3 separate regions of the Homo sapiens genome follow, and regions 2 and 3 are each linked to region 1. Evidence: promoter capture Hi-C in human tissues and cell types (Jung and others, 2019). All regions are on one chromosome and are shown on one strand. The core of a region is centred on a gene start or on the middle of the fragment in contact, and the rest is flanking DNA. Distances in the headings are between cores, read along the strand shown. Region 1 holds the start of RNF6 (ring finger protein 6). Region 2 has its middle 140 kb from the start of WASF3. Region 3 overlaps CDK8 (cyclin dependent kinase 8).

Region 1 (2,869 bases), core at 278-2,777:
TTGATCACACTTAAGCAGTTCAGACTCTAGGTAGTAAAGACCTAAAAACAGAAAATCATCTTAAGTATTTGCTCAATGGCTCTTTTTCCATGGGAAAAGAGGGCAAGGACTTCATTCTATGAGGACATGACTGTCTGATTCACGGCTGTCATCACCAGCACCTAATACATAGTCACACTCACTATTTGTTAAATACATGAATACATGCTAAAATAGGGTTTTATATATAGAGGGAGTATGGGAGCCCCCAAAAGGGACATTTGCTTAGTTTTATGTGTAAATATCGGGCTGGAGGGTGAGGTAAGGGTGTTATTTCAGAGGTATCAGGAAAAATTCCTTAAAGATGAGAACTGAGCTGAGTTTTGGGAGACAGAGGAAATTAGGTAAAAGTGGAGTTGGGGGTTGCTTAGGAGTTCCCATATCTTGTGGCGGAACTTCAAGCAGTTTCGGAGTGCCAAGACAACAGCCTGTAAATGTAAGCAGAAGAAAGATCTGGAAGGGCTTTCTAGGCTGTTTTATATATTTCCATTTTAGTATCCATATCCATATGCTTATTTTAAACACTTGTCCATAGATCCTTACTACACTGGTAGCTCATTGATGCTAAGGACTGCATGTAGCTTGTTATCCAGGTGCCCAGCATAATAATGGGGATATGGTAGTTCCTCAAAAGTTAATGCAGAAATGAAAGAACAAACGGAAGAATAACAAGTAACGGCATTGTGAGCACTCTCCAGTGATGAAGTCATCAGATGGTAGGGATGTCAGGAAAGGGGACTATACCAGGTTAGACAGAGACCTACTCAGCATCTTAACTAACGGTGAGGTAAGTTTAGTAAGCCTCACATCTCAGAAATAAAATCAGAGGGAGGAATGTTGGGAGTTTCAAACTGCTTTCCTAGCGGGAAGGTGAAAAAACACAAAATATAGTGGGGTGCGGTGCCTCATGCCTGTAATCCCATTTTGCTGAGGTGAGAGGATTGCTTGAGGCCGAGTACGAAACCAGCCTGGGCAACATAGCGAGACCCCCGTCTCTACAAAAGAAAAAATGTGAAATTAATGGCAAGCGCCTGTAGTTCCAGCTACTGGGATGAGGAGGGAGGATCGCTGGAGGCTGCAGTGAGCTACGATCGCTCTAGCCTGGGCGACAGGATGAGACCTTGTCTCAAATAGAGATAGACAGACAGACAGACTTCAGAATTTATTAGGGTTTGTAATTTCCAGGTTCCAAAGCACAGCAAGGGAAAGGGCCTGGCTGGGTAGTACGTTACACCCGGAAGTAAAGAGACGCATACACCGTTGGGTGCACTTTATAGTCTGGCTGGCAAACGAGCGACACCGACGCGCAGAGTTAAGTGCTGGGACTTCCCAAGCCTGGAAAGCAGACCGTGTCTCTGCAACTACGCGGCTGCCACGAGCGCTGAGCGGCCGGGCATTTGGCCTCGAGGAGGAGGCACTGTAAGGGCGGCGCAAGAGGGCGGAACGCGGGACGCCAGGCACCCTAGCTCCCGACGGACGCAGTTTTCAGTTGCACGGGCGAGCTCCGGGCCGGCTGCGGAGCGACTCCCCGCCGCCAAGTGGGCGGCGTGGCTGTCGGGAAAGAAGGGCTGGGGCCTGCCGTTCTTCCTCCCGAGTATCCCCTCCAGCTGGACGACCCCACGCTGCAGCACGGGCTTCCGGCTTCTCTCCTCAGTGGCCAATTCGAGGGCACAGCGGGCTCCGGAGGCGCGGCGGCAAGCCTATCCCGCCTCCCAACCACAGCCTCCAGCACCCGAGAGAACGGCCGCCCACAGCACACGTTCTCCGGACAGGAGGGCGAAGGCCCAAGACCTGGAGAGGTGGGCTCGAGGGAAAGATCTGGGTCCCACCACTACTTCCTGGAGACGCCGGGGAAAGCAGGCCATCCTTCGAGCCACCCATCTCTTCTCCGATTGGTTAACTGCCTTCTTATTGCGCTCCGCTGGCTGGTGATTGGTTGGGATGCACCGTCTATCACCTGCTTCCTTGTGAGAATCTAGGTCTCTAAGGGAAGCGTTACTTGAGGCTCGGTTGGGAAGAGGTTGGTTGGGCCTCTTGAGCCCACTTTATTTATCGTAGTGGGGATCGTCCCCCGGCGCGAGCTTCCGTCGCAACGGCCGGGAAAGAAACCAGTAGCGGGACGGAGGGCGGGGGTGGCAAGAAAGTCAAGGTTTAGAAGTAAGCCGGAGACGCCTAACCCTGGTAACATCCGAATGGGAACGGGATAGGAAGGAAGGCCTTTGAGAGAGGAGGCGTAAACCCAGGAACAGTGACAGTGTAGGACGAAAGGCCTAAGTTTGTTGCGGAAGGTAGGGGCCTTGCGGGAGGTTTTCGTGACCTAATTGTATGGGGATCTAATTTTCTAGATGTGTCTAACAAAATCCACTGGAGAATTTGCTTTGGCTTTGCAGCAGAGTGGGGAGACTACCACCCGTTCCTGGCCTTTAAAGAAACAGTTTATTGAATTATTCAACTCTCTTTTATTGCTTCAGATGGGCAGCTCTCAAAAAAGGCACAAACAATTGAAGGATGGATACCATGGCATATGTTAAAAGCGTGTTGAAAGGAAAATAAGGTATTCGCTTTGTTTTCATTGTGATTAACTGTATAAGAAAATTACCTTTAAGGAGAAGCTCAAGTTTTAAATAATATTAGGGTAACTTGATTTTATGATAGGCTTCAACTTGTAAAATTATTTATTACAAAAATCCTATTATTGCTGTACCTACGAAATATGCTCTTTGCTAATTATGGTCTTAATCTGAAGATAGAGATCTTGAGTTTTTAGTAGTGTTAATTCATATTTGAGTGGATAATGTTACTAGGTCATTTGTTCAAAATGACATAATAA
Region 2 (2,869 bases), core at 171-2,670, 190 kb before region 1:
AATTCTTATGCCTCAGCCACCCAAGTAGCTGGGACTACAGGTGCGCACCACCATACCCAGCTAACTTTTGTATTTTTAGTAGAGATGGGGTTTCACCATGTTGGCCAGGCTAGTCTCAAACTCCTGGCCTCAGGTGATCCGCCTGCCTCAGCCTCCCAAAGTGTTGGGATTATAGGCATGAGCCACCGCACCTTGCCCCATTTAATTCTTTTAGATGCTGATGAGATTCAACTTGCTTTCCTAACTTTTTTTTGGATTTTTCACTGCTGGTGTACAGAAATACAACTGATTTTTGTGTGTTGACTTTGTGAGGCCACAAGACCTTGCTGCATTTGTTTATTCACCCTAATAGATTTCTTGCGGATTTTTTAGAATTTTCTATATACAATATCATGTCATTTGTGATTAGAGGTAGTTTCCTCTCATCCTTTTCAATTTTTAAAATTTCTTTTTCTTATCTATTAACTCTGACTAGAACTTCTAGCACAATGTTGAGTAGAAGTGGTGAAAGCAGGCACCCTTGTCTTGTTCTGATTTTAAGGGAAAGCTTTCAGTCTTTCACCCTTGAGTACAATATTGGATGTGTTTTTATCATGTTTAGGTATTTTATCATGTTGAGGAATTTTCCCTATAATACTAGTTTTCTGAGAGTTGTTTTTTTTTTTTAATTATGGAAGGGTATAGGATTTTGTCAAATGCCTTTTCTGCATCAATTGACTTGATCATGTGGTTTTTCCCTTTTGTTATATTAATCTGATGTATTACATTTATAGTTTTATTTTGAGCCACCCTTAGGGTAAGGAGGCATGAATCAATGGAGCACAGAGGATGTTTTGAAGGTCTGTTATTAGATGTGTAAATGTTTATAACTGCTATGTATCTTGCAGTATCAATGTTTATTAATATGTAATGTATATATTTTTCTCTTATAATTTTTTAAAATGTAAAGTCTATTTTATCAGATATTAGTATAGCTACTCCAGCTCTCTTTTGATGGCTATTTGCATTACTGTCCTTTTCCATCGTTTTACTTTTAACCTATTTGTGTCACTGAGTCTAAAGTTAGTGTCATAGACAACATATAGTTGGATTATATTTTAAAAATCCAGTCTGCCAATCCTTGTTTTTTGATTGGAGAATTGAATCCATTTGTGTTTAAAGTAATATAAGGAGGACTTCCTTCTGATATTTTGCTATTTGTTTTCTACATACCTTATGACTTTTAGCTACCTCATTTCCTGTAATATTGCCTTCTTAGGTGTTTAGTAAAAAAATGATTTCTTGGAGTGAAACTTTTATTCCCCTCTAATTTCCTTTTGTGTATACTCTATAGCTATTTTCTTTGTGGTCATCATGGGAATTACATTTAACATCTTAGAGTTGTAACAATCTAATTAAGTTTATAAAAATTTAACTTTTAAGTTCACTGATTCTTCTGCTTGCTCAAATCCGTTTTTGAAACTTTCTAGTACATATTTTCTTTCAATTATCATACTTTTCAGCTTCAAGATTTCTTTTTGCTTCTCTTTTAAAATTTCTATTGATACTCTTATTTTGTTCATATATCATTTCTGCATATCTTTGTCTATGTCTTCCTTGAGTTCTTTGAATCCTTAAGACATTTTTTTTCGTTTTGTTTTTGTTTTTGTTTTTGTTTTTGTTTGAGACGGAATCTCTCTCTGTGCCAGGCTGAAGTGCAGTGTCGTGATCTCAGCTCACTGCAACCTCCGTCTCCTGGGTTCAAGTGATTCTCCTACCTCAGCCTCCCAAGTAGCTGGGACTACAGGTGTGCACCACCATGCCCAGCTAAAAGACAGTTGTTTTAAAGTCTTTGTCTAGTAAGTCTAATGTCTGAGCTTCATGTACATTTTGTGTCAACTTATTTTGTTCCCTTGAATGGGCCATAGTTTTCTATTTCTTTGTATGCCTTTTTGTTTGTTCATTCTGAAAACTGGATGTTCGAATCTTATGACGTGGAAACTCTGGAAAACAGATTCTCCCTCTTACCCAGTGTTTGCTGTCTTTTGATTGTTGTATGGTGTATTTGTGCCAGGGATCAGCTTGAGGTGAAAGCTTAATGTCTTCTCATGTCTTTTCTGAGCCTGTGTCTTTCCCTAGGCATGCAAAGTGGCATTCTAAATTTCCCCATATACATGCTTGTTTTTGAATGTCCAAAGACAGACAGACAAACAAACAAACAGGTATAGTTCCTTTAAATCTCCTGGAAGCTGCTTCAGCTGGGAGGAATTCATACAATGACATCCAAACTCTTTACTCACTAATCAGTGATCAAACAGCAATCCCGTGAGAACACGGAACCCCACTATTTGAAGGACAAGGTCATTATTGCCTGTCATGGCTCCAGCAAGATGTGCCAGAGATATGGGCTGCCATTCCCCAGCTGCCTGCCACCACACTGATAGCTGATATCAACTGAAATTTACCAGCTAAGCTGGTCCCTGGAAGTTTCAAGTATTCAAATAAACTGAGTTCCAAAATGGTTACTTGAGACTGTTTCTGCCAGTACAATTGTTGTCCAGGTGGACAGATAGATTCCTGATAGCTTCCAATTCTGCCATCTTTCCAGCAGCACTACCCTGCAGACTATATTATAACAAAGAGCAGGAGAGTTAATATAGCCTTGGGGTAAAAGAGAGGCTGTACTATTGTCCTTCCTATGTAAACATGTTTTTGATTTTCCTTATAGAAGGGAATAATGCGTTTGCCACATCAAAAGCCACATACAAAGTGCTAGGGGCTGTGTTGATCTGTTTTAGTAAAGATAACACATCTGGCACAGCAGCTGTAATTGGAGCTATTACTTGGTTCGGTTTACACTGTTTGCATTGGTCTACCATCCATTCTGGCC
Region 3 (2,869 bases), core at 232-2,731, 150 kb before region 1:
GTTCAGTGCACCACAATAAGAGTTTTACAGATGGACTTTTACTTTTTTTTTTTTTTTTTTTTTTTGAGACAGGGTCTCACTCTGTCACCCCGGCTGGAGTGCAGTGGTGCGATCTTGGCTCACCACAACTTCAGCCTCCTGGGATCAACGATCCTCCCACTTCAGCCTCCTGAGTAGCTGAGACCACAGGCATGCATCACCACACCTGGCGAATTTCTGCATTTTTTTTTTTGTAGAGATGGCATTTCACCATGCTGTCCAGGCTGGTCTTGAACTCCTGGGCTCAAGCAATCCTTCCAAGCAATCCTCCCACCTCAGCCTCCCAAAGTGCTGGGATTACAGCCATGAGCTGCCGCCCCTGGCTGACTTTTACTAACTTTCAAGGAACAAATAATTCCTATATTATACAAACTATTCCAGAGACTAAAAGCGTCTTCTGAGGCTAATAAAATCATGATAACAAAACAGGATAAAGGTAATATACGAACAGAAGATTACTGACCAAACTTACTTGTGAAAATAGACAAAACAAAGTATTAGCAAGCGGAATCTACTAGTGAATGAAAAAAAAACATCATGACAGTGTGTTGGTTCCACTGCAAGGAGGGTTCAACATTAAAAACAAAAGAAAACAATATAAATGTAATTTACCACATTAATGGATTAAAGGAAATAACCATATGATCATCCCAGAAGACGCAGAAAAAGCAATATTATTGATTTAGAAACAAACAACTTAACCAGGCACAGAAGGGAACATCTTTTACCTTTAACTAAAACCCCAAAGTAAATATCATATCTAATAGTGAAACTTAAGAATTCTCCTTAAAGACAGAAATAAGTCACTTCTATTATATTTGCCACTGTATTAGTGAATAAGTCCTAACCATTACTATATGACAAGAAGAAAATGCATTTCATGGATTCCAATTTTTACTTTTCTTTTTAAATCTTAGAATTTCTGAAAGCAAGATGTGTCTCAGCCTCCGTGGTGTGATAGTAAATTGGCAGCATGTTTTCTTTCTTAGTGGTACATAAAATAATGGTGCAGCTTTCACCACGGTAAAAAGACATTATACTGTACAATGTGTTTAGGAAAGATTTTGAATATATCAGTCTCCCAGGTGGGAAGATATTGAGGAATTTTAAATAGGGGAATGACACGATGTGATTTGGTTTTTAGAGAGATCATTTTGTTTGTAGTTATTAGATCAAACAAACACAAGACAACAAGAGAGGAAGATCACTGGGGAGTTTCTGCAGTAATCCAAGTGGCCTGAATTAGAGTAGTGGTGACAGAAACGGTGAGCAGCAAGACCATGAGGCAATTATTGGAGTCCGAAAAATTCGACTGTGTAAAATGTGGGGTCTAGCTAGGGGTAGGGTAAACAGATATTAATGAAATGGACAAGGTGAACCTCTACAACTAGCAATCCCAATGACCATCTGGGCAATCCAAATCCATTTCCCAGCAGCAGAAAATTCTGAAATCTCCTTGTAAGATGGCAAATGATTTATTGGATTGATCCAGGGACACTGGGCTAATAAGTCCAGAATCCCTGCCAAATCTGCCCTTCCTTTCATGGATTCCTCTCCTTGAAAATAAGCACTACAGTTGACTCTTCTTTGAGAAAAAGATACCAGGCAGATGATAAGGACCAATTGCCAATTGTGCTTTATTCGAATTTGAATTCCAATAAGGTCTCACTATAGCTGGATCTGAGATGTTTTGAAGGAAGAGCTAACAAAAAAATCTACTTATTCATTCAGTAAGCTATTTATAGGCATCCAATATGCACCGTGTAACATTCTGGATAGTGATGATATAGCAGTAAACAAAACGGATAAAGCTCTTAATCCTCATGTACTTAATATTCACAGGGCAACTTGAAAAGTGAAATGTACTTAATGAACATTTATTATGTGCCAGTCTTCACATCAATCTCTACCCAAAGGAAAAAACAAATAGGTCTGGCCCCATTTTATAGCTGAGAAAAGTGACAGACAGGTTAATGCTTCCCATGGTAACACAATTAAGTGGTAGAACAAAGATTCAAACAAATCTCAGGTCCACTATAACAGGGGCTTAATTTTTCCTCTTTGGCCCATGCTGATTAAAAAAAAAAAATTATTCAAGGATAGATAACCCAAGATTTTCTATCGCTTCCTACCATGTGCAACCCTTTCTTATTTTTCTTCTTAATTTCTCCTTTTGTTGTTCTTTATTTTGCTCTGCCTTTTATTTTTGGATCTCCCTTAGCCCCTCTTCAGCATCAAGGTTCAGACATTTGTTTTTGTTTTTTGTTTGTTTGTTTTTCAGACATTTGATTTTACCATCTAGTGTTAACCAGAAGGGGGGAAAAAAGAGAAGACCAATCAAGGAAGAGAGGGCCCAAAGGATGAGTATTAGGAATTCCAAATTTCTGACTCTACCTTCAAGGATTATAGCTGTGTAACAACAAGTTTACTCTAATAAGACAGAAAGTTAGCCATGATGGAAATGTTCGACCAGTGTCAGCAGGGTTGTCTGCCCCGCATATTACCAAGAATTACTATGGCAGCTAAGAGACTGGAATAGTCTGTTGCTGCTAAGATGCCTTCCAACTTTAAGGCCTATTAGTCTGTGAAATTAGGGAAAACAAAAAATGATCTTATTTCAAATGGTTCAAGATGTTTACATAAACAGATGTTAAATGAATTTTTAAAAATTAGCAATCTATCTTCCCAACTTCTATGTTTTTATTAAATAGGCATCTTAAACTACACTGACCTGAATTACAAGCCTGTCTGTGATCTGAAAAGACTGGAAATTAGAATAGAAATTGATTTTAGAAATTCACACATCTATTTGGGAACAGAGAGGAATCTT

The links. The method cuts DNA at HindIII sites, captures the fragments that hold promoters and counts their contacts. A contact is called where the count stands out against the background at its distance.
Region 2: a contact is called between a fragment that was not itself captured here and the fragment with the promoter of RNF6 in region 1, in 3 of the 25 tissues and cell types used here (H1 embryonic stem cells, aorta and mesendoderm cells).
Region 3: a contact is called between a fragment that was not itself captured here and the fragment with the promoter of RNF6 in region 1, in 2 of the 25 tissues and cell types used here (dorsolateral prefrontal cortex and liver).

Annotation. Positions count from the first base shown.
Region 1 is chr13:26,220,972-26,223,840 of GRCh38, reverse strand. RNF6 (ring finger protein 6) reads left to right here and starts at 1,527. Exons shown (of 5, transcript NM_005977.4): 1 at 1,527-1,838; 2 at 2,511-2,593. RefSeq lists enhancers at 1,467-1,846, 992-1,873, 1,874-2,755 and a silencer at 2,297-2,346. The HindIII fragment of the contact is 8,375 bases long and covers 1-2,869 here.
Region 2 is chr13:26,413,047-26,415,915 of GRCh38, reverse strand. No RefSeq gene overlaps it. Among named protein-coding and RNA genes, the nearest start is that of WASF3, 140 kb to the left of the region's middle. The HindIII fragment of the contact is 4,213 bases long and covers 1-2,869 here.
Region 3 is chr13:26,366,645-26,369,513 of GRCh38, reverse strand. All of the region lies in intron 4 of CDK8 (cyclin dependent kinase 8), which reads right to left. Among named protein-coding and RNA genes, the nearest start is that of CDK8, 110 kb to the right of the region's middle. The HindIII fragment of the contact is 5,412 bases long and covers 1-2,869 here.